Regions from separate parts of the Homo sapiens genome. Here all the other regions are linked to region 5. The links are contacts of gene promoters, found by promoter capture Hi-C in blood cells and fetal thymus (Javierre and others, 2016). All regions are on one chromosome and are shown on one strand. Each heading gives the region's core, a stretch centred on a gene start or on the middle of the fragment in contact. The rest is flanking DNA. Distances are from core to core; before and after follow the strand shown.

Region 1 (2,879 bases), core at 247-2,746, 500 kb before region 5:
ACTCGCAGAGATTACTCAAATGGTAGCTATTATCCAAGGCGGTAAAGTTCATTAAGCACGAAGGCATCACATTAGAAGATGCTCACACATAAGGCAGCTACGCTGTACAAACCCCAGAAATAGCCACAATGCTATAAAGCAGCACCTGGCTCTGGTTTCTCCCAGAAGTCAAGGAAGTAATTATCTGTCTGTGTGATCGTGGGCAAGATACTTAATTCTGTGCCTCAGTTTCCCCATTGCAAAATGGGAGAAAGAGTATCTTATAGTTGGGAAGATTAAATGAATTAATAAATGAAAGACAGTGATAATGGTGCCTGTCACATAGAATCTGCTATCGTTATTAAAATATCAGGGAAGTCTTACATCAGGACTTAATCTTCCTGTAGATCTAATTTGGCAATTCTTACCCATAGGTGTTTTGATCTATTGCTCAATAAGCTAGCTAGAAAAGATAACTTGCTGACTAAAGGGAAATGAGGGTATTTATTCTAGGGAGGACTCTCTATTACACCATAGACTGAAATTTGGCACAGACCAAAATATGGTTTATTGAGATGACTGGCTCTCTAACTGTCATATGTAAATTACACATCTGTAATACAGATGCCTAATGCCAACCCAGGTCATCTGCATTTTTAATTTAAAGTTAAGCATCACAAATTCATTTAAAATAATTTATATTGCCCATAAAATGCAAGTAAGGTATAACCATTACTATGCACCTGAGTTTCAAAATGATATAATTAAGACTTTCCTGTAAACACCTCTGACTATCTGGTTAAAGTTTCATCTTAACAGGGAGAAACAGTACAACTCTACTAACTGGTTATGATTTTATTACTAAGAATTTTTAAAAGTTAGGGCACTGAATCAACATAAGAGGTTGTCTGGGCCGGGGACGGTCCTCACGCCTGTAATCCCAGCACTTTGGGAGGCTGAGGCAGGTGGATCATTTGAGGTCAGGGGTTCGAGACCAGCTTGGCCAACATGGTGAGACCCCATCTCTACTAAAAATACAAAAATTAGGCATGGTGGCACATGCCTGTAATCCCATCTACTCGGGAGGTTGAGGCAGGAGAATCACTTGAACCTGGGAGGTGAAGATTGTAGTGAACAGAGATCATGCCACTGTACTCCAGCCAGGGTGACAGAGTGAGACTCTGTCTCCAAATCAAAGAGGTTATTTGTTGGTTGTCTGTCTCAAAAAAAAAAAAAAAAAAAAAAAGAGGTTGTCCTCTGAAAGTAGGTTGAACAATCAAAAGAAAACAAATAGTTCACCATATAGAATAGAAACTTTACAACAATTGCACACATAAAGGTAAAATATACATAACTTTTCATAGAGACAGTAAGAAATTTGGACTATAGTTGACCATTACATGTTTTTCTAACACTTTCCTATTTTAAAATTTTTCATCCTGAACCTGGGGAAAGAAAAACTTTATTGGCATTTTTTATTGACCTTTTTTTTTTTCTTTATTTTACCTGTGGACAGCAGCGCAAGGTGTATGCATCCTGGACGCGATCACAGAACCTGTGACTCTCTGTGGAAGAGGTGGAGGGGATGAGACAGGGATCATGTTACCAATTCTTTTCACAAAACACGTAACCAAATAGGTCACTCCCATAAACATGGTCAGACCTGCTATTTCTGATGGGTGGTGATCTGAGTCCAAGAGTGACCGAAACCGAAAAGCAACTTCAATTTGCCCACGGTGAGGTCGAAGAGCATGAATGTCTAGAATTGATGAAGGAGAAAAAGTCTGAATAATTCCATTTATTTATTTTTTTTAAAGATGGGGGTCTCACTACGTTCCCCAGGCTGGTTTCAAACTCCTGGGCTCTAGCGATCCTCCTACCTTGGCCTCCCAAAGTGCTGGGATTACAGGCATGAGCCACCATGCCAGGTCGAGTAATTCTGATATTAGAACAAATGACCATCAATGGTTCAGGACCATCTACGGTGCTGACACAGCCCTCAAAAGTCCCAGGGGTCCTTAGCCACCACTCAGAATTAGAAACTTAACTCCGAAAGCACGATTTTCCTTATTGACTTGACTCCTTCTACTTTAAATATCTGAGAGCAAACTATATGTTGAGACCACTGGGAATTCCACTCAAGACACTGGGCCTACCTTAAAGGAACAGGGCGAATAACAGGAGGGAGCCCTACAGTGGCCTAATTTAACTCATTCACTTTTAGACAATGTTCTGCCCTTTTTCATATTATAGTTGGGAGGTCGTCAAAATTCACTACTTTCTAAATAAGCTACCAATTCGACAGTTTTTCTTCCCCAATTTTCTAGTCGGGACCAACTCTAATCCTACTCCTTTTTACAGGACTCCTAAGTCCTGTAAAAAGATTCCTAAGACAGCACAGAGCTTGACACACCCAGATCCCTGGGTGCTCTCAGGCAAGTCACTCAACTTCCGGGCTGTGTGTATCTGTAAATTGCAGTTCTTTCAAAGATCAGTTGTGCCATAGCCTAGATGAAGAGGCAGCACACTGGGTACGCCACAGGCACTTGGGTTTTCTCCTTCCCTACTACCTGCCCCCACCACTTCTGTGTCTAAAGATCTCAGCCACCCCGCCCCACCACCTCTGGTTGAATGAATAACAACCAAAAGGAAGAACCCTGCTGACCAGTGTCAAAGGCTTTGGTGGTGCCCTTCAGCACCTCAAGGGTCAGGGCTGCCACAATGTCAGCCTGCCGTGCAATAGCACTGGCTCGCTCTACAGCTTCACAGCCCAGGGATGTGATCATCTGCGTCCCATTGATGAGTGCCAGGCCCTGTCGGGGGAGAGAGCAAAGTTTCCTACTGTGATTATTGTAACGAACCTACATACCCGTGGATTTTGTATCTTTTGCTTTCATAAG
Region 2 (2,886 bases), core at 200-2,699, 460 kb before region 5:
GAGAAGTATGGCATACTGCACCACTGTCTTGCAGAGCCACTAGAATATTAGCCGCCTGAAGGCTCTGAACAGACCTACAATAAAGAAACCTGTTTGATTTCTTACATTTATGTTAACACAAAACCCATTTCTCTCTGGTTTAACACCTAATGGGATGTCAGTATTCTAATGAACACAGCCTGAGAAATGTTGCTGTAATCCTGACACTTCAATCTTGCAGCAAACCTTGTAAGTAAAACAAAGAAGCAAAGAAGGGAGAAAGAACAGTCTCTTTCAATACCATCTAGACATATTCATTCATATCATATGCAAAGTGTTTCTGTACTGCCACACCAATCGTTATTAACATTGGTTCCATCCAGTATGACCACAGGCCAGGTGCCGTGGCTCACTCCTGCAATCCCAGCACTTTGGGAGGCTCAGATGAGAGGATTGCTTGAGCTCTAGAATTTGAGACCAGCCTGGGCAACATAGTGAGACCTTACCTCTACACAAAAAAAATTAGCTGGGCATGGTGGTGCACACCTGTAGTCCCAGCTACTCAGGAGGCTGAGGTAAAAGGATCGCTTGAGCCCAGGAGTTCTAGGCTGCAGTGACCCAAGTTCGCACCATTGCACTACAGCCTGGGCAACACAGCAAGACCCTGTCTCCAAAAAAAAAAAAAAAAGAGCACCTACAATCTTATACCCGGTCTGTTTACAAATAAGTCTGTCTACTGCTGGTGAACAATGAAATGAAAACCCAGCCTCATTGAGACAGTCTACTAAACTCAAAGGAATTCTGATATTAACACCCTTCTCTGAAGCTATTACAAATCCTAAACATACTTCATTCCACCACAAGCTTTCTTAAAACCCCCAAACTCCAGGTCTTTTCATTTCAGTTCTAGAAAATTCTCCAAAGATATAGGCTCCCAAATGACCTCTAGATGGATTAAGTAGGACTAGCAGAGCCACCTGGTTCTCTCTCCCAAAATAGATTTCCAAGACCATGCCTCTATAGTTCCTTAATGGTTTCTAGTTAGGTGACATGGCAACACCAAAGGGGTTTTTAAATGTATTTCATTGGATAAGGCCAAACCCAGGCAAATATGCATACAGAACAACCGTAAGCAAATTCATCAAACAAAATCATGTCTACATGATTCCTATCACCTCAATCATTTATTAATTTAGCTGAAATCTGTTTCCCATATTCCCACCATTGCTGCCAATAAGAAATGGAATAATATATTCAAAATTAACATTTTCATGACTCATAAATCTTGCATTTCTTGCCAACTTTGGTTAATAGACATTCTATTAAGACATACTGCCTGAAAATCAGATATTTATGAGATACAGATTGTGCAATTTGTACACTCTTGCGTAGAACATTTCATCTCTTCTAGATTATTAAACTGAGGGTTTCTTAGATTAAAAAGATGTTTCAAGTGGCCATAGAAAGTAAACAGGTCTGATTCATATGCTAATTCCTTTTTTAAATGGACTTGTATTGAAATTTGAACCTAACACACAGGAATATTGGGAGGGATGAAACATGTAAAGAATCTAGCACAATGCCTGGAAATAGAGCAAACGTTTAATGAAGTCAGTTCCCTTAATTGTAAATTATTTGATTACTATGAAAAGTAGGTATTTTTTCTTTCAGAAGACAGTTTGAAATGTATTATCCTTGTGACAGGTTATCTCTAATTGTATGGCTCTTTACCCTTAGTTTTAAAACAGAAAACAAAAGTAGTTTAAGTCATGCAATTTTAAAGGTACAGTTAATATATTGATATAATACATACTTTTGTAAATGTGTAAGAAAAATATGGAAAAGCTACATTCCAAACTCAATGGTGGTTACCTCTGGGCAATGGTGTCTGGAAAAGGTTTGGAAATTAAATCTTTCACTTTCCATTTCTTTACTATTAGCATTTTTCATAACCAGTACATATTATTTATTAATTTTTCCTTTCATTTTATGACTATTTACTGAGTACCTACTCTCTGCTAAGTTCTAAGTCAGGCCTAGAGAGTCCAATCTAGGTGGACATATTTCCAAACTGAAAGAAGCTTCTTATTTAAAGTAAGGCATGAGTGTATTAATAGTGAAAGATAAAATGAAAATATATAATTCATCTTATATGTTTCTATAAGATCAATTAATACATTTTATTAGGTAAAACCTACATAATCCATAAAACCACTGTTCATTTTGCTTCATTCAACCATAGGTGCTGAAATTTTCTGCATCAGAAATCATTCTGGAATCCTTTTTACCTGGCACTGACTAAAGAGATATGGGTGTTCCTTCCCAGAAGTCTGTTCAGGAGTGAGCCACTGGAGAGCAGAAGATTTTGGAGAGGTCTCAAAAGAAATTTCTATAACAATTTCTTGATTTCTGTATGAAACACATAAATATATTAGTAGAGTATGATTCCATCTAGTGAAAATTTAAACTCATAATACATACACTGAATAATATAAATAACATAGTATGCATTCTCATCACTGATTGGCAGTAAGCTCTAGGTATGCCACATCCTCAGTGGGTAAGTCTCCTCTCAGTTTTCCTACCTAATTGCCAGCCTGTGGGTCCTTTTACCTCTCCCATGCTAACTGCTAGCGAAGGCTTAATGGCAACTAACAGTGGTTGACTACCCCGTTGTGTGTCACGTACTTTGCATCTGTGATATCATTTAATATTTTATTAGAGTGAAAAAGTAAAAGAAATCATTTTTGGGGCTTCAACTACCACAGCAGCAGGTGCCACAGCATGACACAGAGCAGTGCTAGTCTGCAAACTGTTACCGGCCCAGGACAAGACAAGACCAGAAGTTGAGAGTCAGCATTGCAAAACTTTTAGAGTCATTTTTGTCTGTTGAATCTAATAATAAAA
Region 3 (2,954 bases), core at 33-2,532, 480 kb before region 5:
TGAATGAATTTAAATCATCTTCTTTGGCCTGAAATAAATGTTACCTAGTTATTTTTGTTCAAGTACAATTTAATAATACTTATTGGTTTATCTGACATAAAAGTAAAAATTGAGAAAAAGAACCATATGAATGAACAAGATTATTCAAAATAAATTTAAGCCTGAGTTACTTAAATAATCCTGAGATTGAGTTACTGTAATTTAAATAGCTGATATGACTCCTAGAATCTATATTACTTAAGAAAAAGTAGATTATGGGTAGGAAGAGTGGAAGAAACTGTTGACATTCATTGTACCATTCGAGGTATAGAAATTTCCAAAGCAAAGAAACATTTCAAAATGTATGCATGTCAACTAATCTATAGACCAATTCAAAAAGGTAAAGAATGAAATCGTATATTTTTAAATATTACATTAATAAATTGGTAAGGCCATAAACTAATGTTTTCCTCCATCCCCACATATTCTGTTTTCCCCACTTAATCTTAGAAACCATCTAAGAAAAATAAAAATGAGTCTGCACTTTTCAAATTTGGATTTACTCTCAAAAATCTTTGAGAAGATGATTAAGCAATATTAAATAAAGCTTATAAAAATAAGGATTTTTAAATCTTTTAGAACTACTTTTATAATCTTTTAAACTAGGGCTTTTGTTACTTTAAAAGAAATATATGCAAATACTAAAAAATCAAATAGGACAGAAGGAAAAATTCTTTTGGATCTGCTCCCTGTCTCCAAGTACTACTCCTCAGTAACTAATATTAGTAGTTTCTGTATATCCTTCCACTAAATTTAATGCATAGGTATATACCCTTTTAAATAAATATTTTGCATCTTCCCCCTCTTCAGAACTCTCTTTAATAGCAATACTTCTTTTCCCTTTACAACTTATCCTTAATATGAGAACTTACAGCTCCAGCTCATTTTCTGTGCAAAAACCTGCAAATCTAAACTATATATTAATTAAGGATATATTTATGTGGTAAAAACATAAAAAGCAAGAGAATGATAAACCAAAATTCAGGACAATGGTAACCTGGATGGGTCAGCAAGGAGGGTGGAGAGGGGCATAAGATGGGGAGGGATGCTACAGAGGTACCGCTAAGATTTTACTTCTTATGCTAGTGGTGGGTCACACAATTGTTTTATACACCATATGAATATGTTATAAATATTCTTTTGCATTTATTTACTATTTAAGACAAATCATTGAGAAATAAAATACATAAGGAAAAGAGTGCATTAGTGAATACAGTGTCCTGAATCTGTTCCTAACAATGCCTGTTTCTACTAATATTGAAGAGTTGATCATTATCCACCTTAACTGCTGGGCCCAAAGGAATATTTGAGCAGAAATTAGTAGCAGTTTTAACTAGCACCAAATAAGCTGGAATACATTTTTCAAACTAAAACAGAGAATTTTAATACACTCACACTGTTAAAAAATCCTGTTTCCCATAGAAATCTCTTATACTTTTCTTCATGACAAGTTTGTCAACTACACAAAACAGGTTTTAAAAGGCAATAGCTGAACTGATTGCACAGCTGGAGGCCATTATCCTAAGTGAATTAACACAGGAACAGAAAACCAAATACAGCATGTTCTCACAAGTGAGAGCTAAACGACTGTATATTCATGGACATAAAAGTGGCAACAATAGATACTGGGCACTACTAGGAGTGGGGCAAGGGTTGAAAAACTACTGGGTACTGTGCTCAGTACCTGGGTGATGGGATCAATCATACCCCAAACCTTAGCATCACACAATATGCACGTGTAACAAACCTGCACATGTGTCCCCTGAACTTAAAAGTTGAAATTACGTAAAAAAATGATAAATCTGTTGCAAATTAATAGGAATAAAAGTATTCCTAAATCTTCTGTTATTTTTCATTAAAGAATTATCAAGGGCTCATCCTTACTTTGGCTTCAGTAAAGGGTTCTATTTTAGTACATATATGAAGAAGCTCCTCTTTAAGAAGCTTCATAGAAAGTGAACAAAGAGCAAAAGTGCTTCGATTCTTTGCACCACTAATAGTCAGCAGCTGGTCACCCAAGATCATTTTAGATTTACCTGGTATGTGAAATTGCCATATTGGAAGCAGTATCTTATAAATGATTTAAAAGGAAAAGAAGAAAGGTAAGATGCAAATATTTTTGCATACTTTTTTTTTTTAAGAGTTAAGAAGCAAGAAAAATCAGGATTAATGCCTTCAACATCAATTTTTCCCCCCATAAAACTTAATTTTCTAGGCTGGGCACAGTGGCTCATGCCTGATGCCTGTAATTCCAGCACTTTGGGAGGCTAAGGTGGGAGGATCACTGGAGACCAGGAGTTTGAGACCAGCCTGTACAACACAGACCCTGTTTGTATAAAAAGTTTTAAATTAGCCAGGCATGGAGGCACATGCCTGTAGTCCCAGTTACTCGGGAGGCTGAGGTGGGACAACTGACTGAGCCCAGGAGGTTGAGGCTGCAATGAGCCATGATCACGCCACTGTAGTCCAGCCTGGGCAACAGAGCAAGACCCTGTCTCAAACCCTTAATTTTCTATATTGAGAGTAGATATAATATCACCTTAGATAAACCTGACTTTCAAATAGCCTTTCCAAATATAACTGTTTGTGATTTAAAGTACCCTCCCTGCTTCATGAGTAAAGACATATTTGCACAATTCAAAAAGGAATCAAAAATCACACATTATTACTTACAGTAATCCATCTTTGACTTAAGGCAATACAAGCATTTGTCAGAGTCATATCATAACTGCAAAGATAAAGATTACATTGTTTAAAAATGCACGTGCTTTTGCAGAAATGCAGTTTTAAAGCTACAGTACATACTTAAATTTCAAAGTCCCTTTTAAATAAGGAAAACAAACTCCAAAGTGAGGAAAATAGGAAATATTTTACCTAACTTACATACTACTGGCATCATCCAAGAACTCACAAAC
Region 4 (3,103 bases), core at 1-2,500, 370 kb before region 5:
ATATTTTAGGCTTTGCAGGTCATGAGGTCTCTATTGCAACTACTCAATCCTGCTATTGTATCACAAAAGCAGCCATACATAAATAAACGGGCCAGGCTGGGTTTCAGTAAAACTTTATATATAAAAAAAAAAAAAGTGGTGGGTTCAATTTGCCCTGCAGGCACTAGTTTGCTGACTGCTGCTTTAGAGCAATGCTTCTCAAACTCTTTTGACTAGGAATATATTAGATTATTGCTCAACAGATCGTTGTTTTGTATCTAACTGATGTTGGGCTCAGTCGTGTGACTGGCTTTGATCAATGAGACTGTGGGAGTGAACTTCTCTGACCTTGTCATTCAGCCAATAGGATGTTAGCAGACAGGAGACAAGCAGAGACTTCAAACGTGCTTAGAGGATTAAGTTTGCCCTTTTGTGCCTTTAACATCATGATAAGAGCTTCCCCCAGGAAGCTGCTACCCCTTAGACTAGGCCCAAATAGAAGACATGTGGAGCAGAACCAAGTCCAGTGATGGGGAGCCAAGCTTGGCAAGACCTGAAGCTTGAAGCAGACCTGCTCAGCCAAGCCCAGCCTAGATTAGCTGATTATCAGCTGATCCACAGAGGAGTGAGTGAGCCCAGATGAGATCAGTGGAGCTGCCCAGCCACCCCCAAACTCATGGGAAATAAATGCTTCACACTTTGGGAGGCCGAGGCAGGCGGATCACGAGGTCAAGAGTTGGAGACCATCTGGCCAACATGGTGAAACCCCATCTCTACTAAAAATACAAAAATTAGCTGGGCATGGTGGCTCGCAGCTGTAGTCTCAGCTACTCAGGAGGCTGAGGCAGGAGAATCACTTGAACCTGGGTGGCAGAGGTTGCAGTGAGCTGAGATCGCGCCACTGCACTCCAGCCTAGTGACAAAGCAAGACTCCGTCTCAAAAAAAAAAAAAAAAAAAAAAAAAGTAAATGCCTCATGCTGTGTGCCACTAAGATTTTTGATTGTTATGTGGCATTATTTTAGCAATCTACTGTTACAAACGTGGTCAATAAGAAACAAATCATGCCTTGTGATTCAGATTCATAAACATTATTTTCTTCACAATGGCAGAAACTGAGCAAAAACTTTTTGTAGAAATTGTATAGCAAAATACTTACAAGGTGTTTATCACCTGCCAGGCATTGTTTTAAGTGCTTTTTAGCTTTACTTATTTGTGAGACAGGATTTGGCTCTGTCGCTCAGGCTGGAGTGTCATGGCATGATCTCGGCTCACTGCAACCTCCACCTCCAGGGCTCAAGCAATCCTCCCACCTCAGCCTCCTGAGTAGTTGAGACTACCGGTGCATACTACCATGGCTGGCTAATTTTTGTGTTTTTTATAGAGATGGGGTTTTGCCATGTTGTCCAGGCTGGTTTTGAACTCCTGAGCTTAAGTGATCCCCCTGCCTCAGCCTTCCAAAGTGCTGGGATTACAGGCATGAGCCACCACACCTGAGCTTAAGTGCTTTACATATACCAACCCATTTAATTTTTTTAACCCACTTAATATTTACAATAGCTCTATGAAGAACACATTATTCAGGTGTAAAAACTGAGGCACAGAGAAGTGATTTGCCAAAGGCCACATAGCTAGTAAGTGGTCACACTGTGGAGGTTCAGTACAGCAGGTCTGGCTTTAGAGTCCATGGTTAACTATACTTTGATGTTGTCTATTCTAATATAATCTATTACATTGTTTAAATGGGGGAATAGAAAGTGATGTGGCTAAGAATGCCAAGACAGTTCAATGGGGGAAAGAATAGTCCTTCACAAAAGGATCTGGGACAATTGGATATCCACATGTGAAAGAATGAAGTTGGACCCTTATCTCATATCATATTCACACATTAACTCAAAACAAATCATAGACCTCCATGTGAAAACCAAAATTATAAAATTCTTAGAAGAAAATATAGGAGTAAGTTTCCATAACGTTGGGTTAAGCAAAGCTTTCTTAGGTATGACATCAAAAACATACACAACAGAAGAAAAAATGGATAATTGGACTTAATAAAAATTAGAAATGTTTGCGTCAGTGGACACCATCAAAAGTGAAAGGACAACCCACAGAATGGGAGAAAATACTTGCAAATCATATGTCCGATAAGGGTCTACTCTCCACGATATATAAAGAACTCATGACTCAACGACAAAAAGAAAACAACCCGATTTAAAAATGGGTCAATAGGCCAGGCGCGGTGGCTCATGCCTGTAATCCATGCACTTTGGGAGGCCGAGCCAGGTGGATCACTTGAGGTCAAGAGTTCAAGACCAGCTTGGCCAACATGGTGAAACCCCACCTCTACTTAAAATACAAAAATTAACTGGGCGTGGTAGTGGGCAGCTGTAGTCTCAGCTACTTGGGAGGCTGAGGCAGGAGAACCACTTGAACCCGGGAAGCAGAGGTTGCAGTGAGCCAAGATCGTGCTGCTGCACTCTAGCCTGGCAACAGAGCAAGACTCTGTCTCAAAAAAAAGAAGAAAAAAAATGGATTAAGGATCTGAACAAATATTTCGAGAAAGATACACAAAATGTCCAATAAGCACAACAAAAGATGTATAACGAGGGAAATTCAAATAAAAACCACAAGGAGATACCATTTCACACCCGCTAGAATGACTATTTTTAAAAAGACAAATAATAATTGTTGATGAGGGTGTAGAGAAGTTGGAACCCTGATACTCTGTATTGCTAGTGGGAATATAAAATGGTTTAACCACCCTGGAAAAGAGTCTGTCTGTCCTCAAAATGTTAACCATAGAGTTATCACAGGATCCAGCAGTTCTTATCCTAGGTGTTTACCTAAGAGAATTGAAGACATGTCTACACAAAAACTTACACACAAGTGTTCACGCAACATCATTCATAATAGCCAAAACATGGAAAAAATCCAAATGTCCATCAATTGATAAATGGATAAATAAAGTGTGGAATACCAATACAATGGAATATCATTCAGCCAAATGAATAAAATTCGGATATATGCTACAATATGAATGAGCCTCAGAAATACTATGCTAAGTAAGAGAAGCCAGGCACAAAAGCCTGTATATGGTATTGCATTTAGAAGGAATATACGAATAAG
Region 5 (2,893 bases), core at 315-2,814:
CATATTAGGCCAGCCTCACAAATTAGCACAGGCCCACAGAGCCTGCATAAAATTAGGTCAGACTTGAAAGATATCAGGCTGTGGTCCAATAAGCTTCTTAGTCTGAAATGGAAAATTGGGTTCACAGGGTGTTAGGGTCACTGTCTTTATTTAAGTGTGATAGAACTGGTAACAATTTTCAGGGTTAAAGACTGATTTTTCTAAGCCACCAAATATTTCTGGTTCTTCTCTTAGATAATTTATTGTGTTGCATAATTTATAGAAAAGAAGGTTCTCCATTTTCTCAATACTCATACTTTAATAAATTTAACTCTGACTTTTGCCTATAATACACAGGCTAAGAATAAACTCCCCAAGTATTTCCCTGGAGGTCTGTAGTTTCCCCATCAGAAGTAAAGTCTCCTAAAAGCCCTGTTTAAAATGCAAAGTATTTTGAGAGTTAACACTTCAGGCCACTAGTATGTATTAATGTCCTATGGTTAAGGTTGAGCAAAATGCACATTAATTTAGAATACAGAGATAATTAAAGTAAGGCTGGAATGTGCATAAATAGATGTAATCATAATTATTAGAGGCATAGACATCATGTCCACAGTTACAGACCTCAAGGTACAAATAGAGGAAAGAGAATGGATCAGCTGCATATTCAGTACTCCCTGGCTATCTGTGGGGGACTAGTTCCATGACACCCGCAGATACCAAAATCTGTGGATGCTCAAGCCTCTGATATGAAATGCTGTAGTATTTGCATATAATTTGTGCACATCCTTCAGGATGTTTTAAATCATCTCTAGATAACTAGTAATACCTAATACAGTATAAATGCCATGTAAATAGTTGTATTTTGTGTTATTTTTATTGTTGTATTGTTATTTCTAATTTTGTTCTGAATATTTACAATCTGGAGTTGCTTGAATCCACAGATGAAGAACCCGAGATTTGGAGGGCCAACTGTATTTGATTCTTAAACTGCTTGTCAGATATTTCTCTAATTTCAATTTGATTAATAAGCTTTGTTTTGGGGAGTGATCAATACAGCCTATTCATTTTGAGCACAGGCTTTGGAGTCACAAGTTCCCTTTGGAGGACCTGGTCGCTGACACTACGGTTGTACGCTGACTTTTGTCAAATGACTTAACCTCCTTGAGCTTTGGTTTCCTAAACTGTGAGATGGATATACTAATAGTATCCTAAGTTGTAAAGTAGTTATGATGATTAAATGAGATAAATGAAAGTACATGTTTCAAATGCTTAATGCCTGACACACGTTAATGGTCATGGTCGTCATCATTATCGTTATTAAGTGGCCAACATGGATAAAGAGTATAGTCTGGATTTGTGACCTTAAATTTTTGGCTCTAATATTCGCCAGCGCTCTGCTCAGAACATTCTCTGTTCGCATTTCATACAGCGGTGCCAGCGCACAACCAGGCAACGCCCTCAGGAGCATCATTGTTTTCTGGACCTGGTTCTTTCTCGCTCTGCCCTCCAGGGGCCGCTGTGTTTCTCGGAATGCGCGCGGGATGCCCGGTTGCCACGAGACCGTCGCCAGGCAACCGCGTGTACACATACTCCAGGCGGGCCGGGGCGCGTCAATATGGCGGCGCAGGGCTCCCCCTCGAGCTCTCCGTCAGACGACTCTACCACCTCGGGGTCTCTGCCAGAACTGCCGCCGACCTCCACCGCGACTTCGAGGTCGCCCCCAGAGTCGAAGGGGAGCTCCCGGAGCTCGCTGCTTCAGTGGACCTGCCCCGAGGACTCATTGCCCCTAGCCGTGTTTTATGGGCCGCTGGACGCGAAAAACCCGCTCCTGGCCTCTTGTGAGAAGGAGATCCAGGAGTTGTTAGGCTTTATGAGGAAAAAGAAGGCTTTAGCCACCACGGAGGAAGAGAAGCACGAATTCCGCCGGCGTTGGTAAGCGCTGGCGGGGCACTGGGGAGGGCGCCGGCCAGAGGAGGGACCCCTGGAAAGGGCTGGAGGATGCAGGTGGTGGCCCCAGAGATGGTTCAGCGTTGCGGACGCAGGGGCTGGCTGAAGGGCCCAGGAGAGACAAAGTTTAAGAAGTGGAGACTCGTCGCTCTTAACAATCCTTAATTCCTGGGAGCTGTTATATCTTGGCTTCCTGCTCAGGTCAAAATAAAAATCTACACAGAAATGTTTCATAACTCACCATTTGTTATTTGACCAGAAAAGAAAGATGGTAACATAAGCAGGAAAGAACCTTAAAAAGAGTTCGCAGTTTGCAGTAATAACATGGTGATAGAACTCCCAAAAAGGCAAACAGTTGCGCAGAATGAATAGCAAAATTAAGAAAAAGTCACTGTAATCCTAATAGCAATATAAGAAGGAATTAAAGTGCACATGTTCACAGGATGACATACTTCATTGTATCAAGAGCTAGCTTCATGAACCTGAGCTACCTCGAAGTTATTCCTTTTTCTCCATATACAAATTTATATACTCATAACATGGAAAGTTGTGAAACCCTTGAGCGAGCCAAAAATTTATACATGAATACAAAATACGAAAATTAGCTGGGCATGGTGGCACATGCCTGTACTCCCAGCTACTCAGGAGGCTGAGGCAGGAGAATTGCTTGAACCCGGGAGGCAGAGGTTGCAGTGAGCTGGGATCGCGCCACTACACTCCAGCCTGGGCGACAGAGCAAGACTCCTTCTCAAAAAATAATAATAATAAATAAATAAAATAAAATATTTTTTATTTATGCATATAACAACTATTTATTGAGCACATACTGTATATCAAGTGCTGTTCAAGGAACTAGGAAAACATCAAGTTAACAAAACATATAAGAATCCATGTCCTTATAGAGCATATGTTTTTGTGGGTATAAACAACCACTAAACAAATATGTAAGTAAATAATCTTACAA
Region 6 (2,812 bases), core at 263-2,762, 420 kb before region 5:
GAAGGGGGCATCCTATTCCTGCTAGAGGGCAAAATCGTGGTTGATGTAAGGTAGTGATTTTCAACTGGAGGTAATTCGGCAATATTTTGCAGTTTTTGTTGCCACAGAGGTAAGCATATTGTGCTACTGGCATCTAGCGGGTAGAGGGCAGGGGTGCGGCTAAACATTCTTCAATGCACAGGACAGCCCCCACAACAAAGAGAACCATCCAGTCCAAAATGTCAATGGTGCTGAGGTTGAGAACCCTGACCTAAACCAGTCCTGGTGGTCTCATTCCCTAGCTGTTAGTGGTTTAGATCCCATGATGTTAAGTAATTCTGACCAATGAGACGTGAGCAGAAATTGACAAGAGGAGTATGGCAGAGAATGTTAATTTCTCCCTACATTCACTTTACCTTTCTTTTCAGCAGAAGTTACATTCAGTGTTAGCTAGGCGCATGCCCAATTACAGACTATAATTCCCAGCCTCCATCGTTGCAAGGTGTGGCCAAGTTTTGGCTAATGGGATGTGAGAAAAAAATAATGAGTCTAATTTCTAGACCATGTTTTTAAGAAGGAGAATGCTTGTTCTTTACTTTCTCTCTTAATCCCTTTCTGCACACTGGGTGGTACTGCTAATCCAGCTTCAAGCAAGCACATGACTCCAGAGAATGGCAGAGCAAGACAGAAAGACTTACATACATTGGGACTGATACATGAAAAGAAAATAAATTGCTTTCTTCTTTGAACCATCGTATTTTTTAGTTTTTTTGTTTTAGCAGTTTAAGCTGTATGTATATGAGGTACTCCTGGGGAAGGTTTTTTCCTCTGTGATCACACACACACATACACACACACACACACACACACACACGGAGGGAATATTCATCTAAAGGATGTTGTAGGATTTGTGTGAGATGGCTGGAACCATGGCTGCTATCTTGTGACCATGAGGGGAGGTACCTGGTGGTTCAAAACTGCCCTGCTAAGTGAGAACGGAATAGGAAGGTTGTAAACAGCCCAAATCTTTCTTAACCTTGTTAAGCCATTGAGTTGACGAACTTTGCATCTGTCCTGTCTCAGGACTTCTTGTTAAGCAAGATGGTATATTTTTCATATCGTTTAAATATTTGGCCTTTAAATTTTCAGTAATAGTCCTTACAGTGATGGCTTTCAGACAGAAAATTAAAAATTTTAAAAAGTGCTATCCTAACTGATTCTCTCAATGTATTCAAGTGTAAAGAAATTACATGTCTAACCTCTCATGGAATTAGAGGGAAAAAATTTCATGTTATTTTAAGTATGTTCAGTTCTTTTATTAACTCATATTGGTTTCCCCCCTACTCCTTACCCTTGCAACCAAGATAATTTGCATCTAAGAGGTTTTATTCTGTTTCCACTGATATGTTTAGAAATTACTATATCTGAGGTGGGTATATTGGGAAAACATACACTACCACTCCTTTGCAGAAATGAGGGCTTATTGCAGCAGCTACTCGCCCTTGCAATGCTTCCTGCTTGGAAACTCGAAGGACTACATTGAGCAGGTGGAATAAAGTTGAATCGAAGGTTCAACTTACAAGCAGTCAGGAGGAGGTCTGCCCTGAAGCACTGTGCAGACTGGGACCTGCAGCAGGGCTGGGAGGGGGAGTGTCGAGGAAATGCCTTTTGCATGTCAATGGAGCCCCGTTGCTGTTCTGTGCTGCACAGCCACATGAGGTCATCCCAGATTAGAGGGTGCCCATGTCCAGGATCTTAAACCAATTACTTCCATCTCCATTGCTTCCTCTAAAGCCTCACTCTTAGTTCTACACAGTAATACTGCCTGGAAACTCCCCAAGGCCACCAAGCTCATACTAACAGGTTTGTGATGTGGGCAAACTCCTTACATGATCTCAAAATGAAAGAAGAGGCTGTTCACTGGAGGCAATAGCAAATCCCCTTTGTTCCTCTCTTGGCAGATGAGGGCCTTCGCTCTCTCCCTAAGGGTTCCGCCTGTCACCATCTGTGCACCCACTGTGGAAGGGCCAGCGCTAAGGTGAATTTCCATTTACTTCCTGCCAGCAGATGGCTCCTCCTTTTGGTCTCATCTTGAATTGTTTGCCAGACCAGCCAATTAGTCTCCTCACCCTTCCTGAAGCGTCCCAGGGAAGCAATATCATCACCAGCAGCCTATCATTATACCACGTCTTCTAAGCACCGTGATTCTAAATGCCTGCCGTGGAACAGAAGCTCATTCGCACATGGCTCTTTAACCCTTCCTTGAAAGACCTCAATTCAACATTCTCTCTCTCGCTCACACACACACACACACACACACAAATGCACACTCACACACAGTACCTACAACCTGATCCAAGATAGGAAACAAAATGACAGTATGCGGCATTCAATAATAAATTTAAAAATAAGACATAATTTCAGACAGAATGCAGAAGGAAAAACACAGTAACTATATTTTCTGATCCCCACTGAGGACACAATAAAAACTTTTTTTTAGGCCAGGCACGGTGGCTCACGTGTGTAACCCCAGCACTGTGGGAGGCCGAGGCGGGCGGATCACGAGGTCAGGAGGTTGAGACCATCCTGACTAACATGGTGAAACCCTGTCTCTACTAAAAATACAAAAATTAGCCTGACGTAGTGGCGTGTGCCTGTAATCCCAGCTACTTGGGAGGCTGAGGCAGGAGAATCTCTTGAACCAGGGAGTTAGAGGTTGAAATGAGCCGAGATCGCACCACTGCACTCCAGCCTGGCGACAGAGCAAGACTCCATCACAAAAAAAATAATGATACAAAAAAATTAATTAAATAAATAAAAATTAAAAATAAAA
Region 7 (2,990 bases), core at 382-2,881, 440 kb before region 5:
GTACCAGGATGGGTGCTGCTATAACAAATGTATAAAAATAGCAAAGACGTGGAATCAACCTAGGTGCCCATCAATGATGGATTGGAAAAGAAAATGTGGTACATATACACAATGGAATACTATACAGCCATAAAGAAGCTGTCCTTTGCAGCAACGTGGATGCAGCTAGAGGCCATTATCTTGAGTGAATTAACACAGAAACAAAATTAAATACTGCATGTTTTCACTTATAAGTGGGAGGGAGATAAACACAGGGTACACACAGGCATAAAGATAGAAACAATAGACACAGGGGACTCCAAAAGGGGAAAGGGAAGGAGGGAGGAAAGAGAGTTGAAAAACTACCTATTGGGTACTATGTTCATGTTCACCATTTGGGTGACAGTTCAGCAGAAGCCCAAACCTCAGCATTAGGCAATATATTCATGTAACAAACCTGTACATGTACCTCCTGAATCTCAAATTAAAATAATACTACTACTAATAAAGACCAAAGTATTTCAGAGGGAGGAAGAATTTGCATGGTGAAATTTGCGTAGTGAAATTGGCATCCATATGGTGCATAAGGGATATCTTTGGATCTTCTGAATTACATTATATACATTTTTTAAATTAAAATAAATTCTAAAAATGTGGAAGCAGTAATGATGCAGGGTGATGGGTGAAGGCTAAAAGAGTTTTGAGATACATGCTACAAAAAGCCAAGGTTGCTGTGAAAAAATTGCTAAAGATGATTCTGGTGAGGACTCAAAAAGAGCTTCTGTCTTCCTTCTTTGAGGATGCGTAAACAATCGTGAACAGAATGCTAGCAGAAATATAGGTGGCAAAGGCTATTCTGTGAGGCCTCAGATGGAAATGAGGAACATGTTATTGGACAATGGAGAAAATCCTTTTTATAAAGTGGCAAATAACTTACTGAATTGTTTATGTTCTAGTGTTTTGTGGACGGTAGAACTTTCAAACAATGAAATTGGATAGTTGGCTGAGGCCATTTCTAAGCAGAGTGCTGAAAGAGCAGCTTGGTTCCTCTTGACCACTGATAGTAAAATTTAAGAAGAGAGAAATGAATTGAAGAAGAAATTGTTAATCAAAAAATAACCAGCACTTAAAGATTTGGAAAATTCTTAGCCTGTCCTTACTGCAAAAAAAATGAGAAACCATGTTCAGAAGAGTTAGGCCAAGCATGGTGGCTCCTGCCTATAATCCCAGCACTTTGGGATGCCAAAGCAGGCAGATTACTTGAGCTCAGGAGTTCAAGACCAGCCTGGGCAACATGGTGAGACCCCATCTCTATTTTAAAAAATAAAAAAAGAAAAGAAAAGAAGAGATTATTAAGAGTGTGGCTGGTCACCCATTTGATAAGGAGAGTAGTGTGAGTATCAACCATGGACCTAATCAGCCATCTCAACAGAAGCCAGAAATAGAGTTGGGATTATTCCAGGAGAAATAATGCTTTAGTCCCCTGCCAGTTGGGACTAAAAGGAAAAGAGAAAACAAGATGGAATGAAGTAAGGCTGTGAATATGCAATCCCCTTCAGGAAAAGAGAGGAAGGATCCCAAAGGCAATTCAGACATCATCAGGGCTGCTACTCCCACCACAGGCCCAGAGTGGAAAGGCCCCTGGGAACAAGGCTACCTCCATCTTGGTTTCAAAGAGTGGGACTGCTACTCAGCACTCATGTGGGTGTGGCCCTCACAGACAGCCATGTGGGCAGTGCTACACTGAGCTGAAGAAGCAGGGACACCCCACTGAAAGATGGGGGTGATACCTTCCAGTGGTTCTGGAAGGGAGGACCACCACCCCAGTGGGCCTACAGGGCAGAGCATTCTTTGAGCCAAAGAGGATTGTATTTCAGTTTTAAAGCCTAATGAAGTTTGACTTCTAGATTTTGGATTTCTTGGTACTTGTCACCCCTTTCTACCTTTCAATTTCTCCCTTTTGGAATAGGAATATCTATCCTGAGCCTGTTCCATCATTGTATTTCGGAAGCACATAACTTGTCTGGTTTCACAGATTCACAGTTGGAAAGGAATTTTGCCTTAGGGTGAATTTTGAGTCTCACTCATATTGGATTTACATGATATTTAGATGAGACTTTAAACTTTAGAGTTGATGCTGGAATGAGTTGACTTTTGAGACTGTTAAGATGGAATGAATGTATTTTAAATGCAAGGAGGATGTGAATTTTGAGAGGGACAAAGGGCAGAATATTATGAACTAAACGTTTAAGTCTCCCCCAAATTCATATATTGAAGCCCTAACCCCCAATGTGAGGGTATTACGAGGTGAGGTCTTTGGGAGGTAATTAGGTTTGGATGAGGTCATGAGGGTAGATCCCTTGTGATGGAATCAGTGCCCTTATAAGAAGAAGAGAGACTAGAGCTTCCTCTCTCTGCCATGTGAAGATACAGCAAGAAGGTGGCCATCTGCAAGCCAGGAAAAGGGGCCATGGCAAACACTGAATCTGCTCACAGTCTGAACTTGAACTTGTCAGCCTCCAGAATTGTAAGAAATGAATATCTGTTGTTTAAGCCACCCAGTCTATAATATTTTGTTTTGGCAGCCTTAGCTGACCCAGGCACTCACTTATGCTTACATTCTAACTTCTAAATTAAGGCTGCAATATATGAAACATGATCATAGAACTTGTAATTATCTGAGGATCCAGAAAAATCACGAGCCTGCACAAGGTTTATCCAGAGGCAGAGGAAATACCAGTTCACTGAGAAAAATTAAAGGGACAGTAGAAGAATAAAATATAGTTGTTTATAATTGTATGTTACAAATTATGTTTGTGAAGCCAGTTACATAAATAATCTTAAAGATTTAATAGTTTCTGCCTGCATCCAAATAATTGCCATGTGCCTATGTCCATACGCCTATGTCCATACTACTTTGGAAACCTCTAATGAATGAATGTGTAAAGTTTGGATGGGTATTTGAGAGGGAAAATACTTCTTATGAGGTTGACAGTTATAAGCAAAGTTAG

What was found. The method cuts DNA at HindIII sites, captures the fragments that hold promoters and counts their contacts. A CHiCAGO score of 5 or more calls a contact.
Region 1: a fragment that was not itself captured here is called in contact with the fragment with the promoter of CFAP54 in region 5 in 1 of 17 cell types (neutrophils); the score reaches 6.8 in neutrophils.
Region 2: a contact is called between a fragment that was not itself captured here and the fragment with the promoter of CFAP54 in region 5, in 16 of 17 cell types (fetal thymus, neutrophils, naive CD4 T cells and 13 more). The highest score is 15.7, in fetal thymus.
Region 3: a fragment that was not itself captured here is called in contact with the fragment with the promoter of CFAP54 in region 5 in 5 of 17 cell types (neutrophils, total CD4 T cells, monocytes and 2 more); the score reaches 9.5 in neutrophils.
Region 4: a contact is called between a fragment that was not itself captured here and the fragment with the promoter of CFAP54 in region 5, in 4 of 17 cell types (activated CD4 T cells, M2 macrophages, naive CD4 T cells and 1 more). The highest score is 7.3, in activated CD4 T cells.
Region 6: a contact is called between a fragment that was not itself captured here and the fragment with the promoter of CFAP54 in region 5, in 17 of 17 cell types (naive CD8 T cells, non-activated CD4 T cells, naive CD4 T cells and 14 more). The highest score is 18.9, in naive CD8 T cells.
Region 7: a fragment that was not itself captured here is called in contact with the fragment with the promoter of CFAP54 in region 5 in 15 of 17 cell types (activated CD4 T cells, total CD4 T cells, naive CD8 T cells and 12 more); the score reaches 23.5 in activated CD4 T cells.

The regions. Positions count from the first base shown.
Region 1 is chr12:95,984,423-95,987,301 of GRCh38, forward strand. HAL (histidine ammonia-lyase) reads right to left here. Exons shown (of 21, transcript NM_002108.4): 12 at 2,645-2,792; 13 at 1,643-1,738; 14 at 1,486-1,544. Among named protein-coding and RNA genes, the nearest start is that of HAL, 10 kb to the right of the region's middle. RefSeq lists an enhancer at 1,534-1,678 and a cis regulatory region at 1,606. The HindIII fragment of the contact is 6,490 bases long and covers 1-2,879 here.
Region 2 is chr12:96,025,177-96,028,062 of GRCh38, forward strand. It overlaps LTA4H (leukotriene A4 hydrolase), which reads right to left. Exons shown (of 19, transcript NM_000895.3): 3 at 2,268-2,388. Among named protein-coding and RNA genes, the nearest start is that of LTA4H, 9.0 kb to the right of the region's middle. The HindIII fragment of the contact is 1,217 bases long and covers 842-2,058 here.
Region 3 is chr12:96,006,382-96,009,335 of GRCh38, forward strand. It overlaps LTA4H (leukotriene A4 hydrolase), which reads right to left. Exons shown (of 19, transcript NM_000895.3): 15 at 2,713-2,767; 16 at 1-28. The region is part of intron 3 of LOC102723340 (a long non-coding RNA gene); the gene reads left to right. Among named protein-coding and RNA genes, the nearest start is that of HAL, 12 kb to the left of the region's middle. The HindIII fragment of the contact is 1,397 bases long and covers 585-1,981 here.
Region 4 is chr12:96,117,316-96,120,418 of GRCh38, forward strand. No RefSeq gene overlaps it. Among named protein-coding and RNA genes, the nearest start is that of LINC02452, 54 kb to the right of the region's middle. The HindIII fragment of the contact is 1,429 bases long and covers 537-1,965 here.
Region 5 is chr12:96,488,013-96,490,905 of GRCh38, forward strand. It overlaps CFAP54 (cilia and flagella associated protein 54), which reads left to right and starts at 1,565. Exons shown (of 68, transcript NM_001306084.2): 1 at 1,565-1,914. The coding sequence starts at 1,598. RefSeq lists a silencer at 1,419-1,713 and an enhancer at 1,604-1,813. The HindIII fragment of the contact is 3,410 bases long and covers 1,010-2,893 here.
Region 6 is chr12:96,069,111-96,071,922 of GRCh38, forward strand. No RefSeq gene overlaps it. Among named protein-coding and RNA genes, the nearest start is that of TRD-GTC2-8, 34 kb to the left of the region's middle. RefSeq lists an enhancer at 2,147-2,647. The HindIII fragment of the contact is 5,233 bases long and covers 1-2,812 here.
Region 7 is chr12:96,050,241-96,053,230 of GRCh38, forward strand. It overlaps LOC124902990 (a long non-coding RNA gene), which reads left to right and starts at 2,408. Exons shown (of 2, transcript XR_007063413.1): 1 at 2,408-2,506. The HindIII fragment of the contact is 8,479 bases long and covers 1-2,990 here.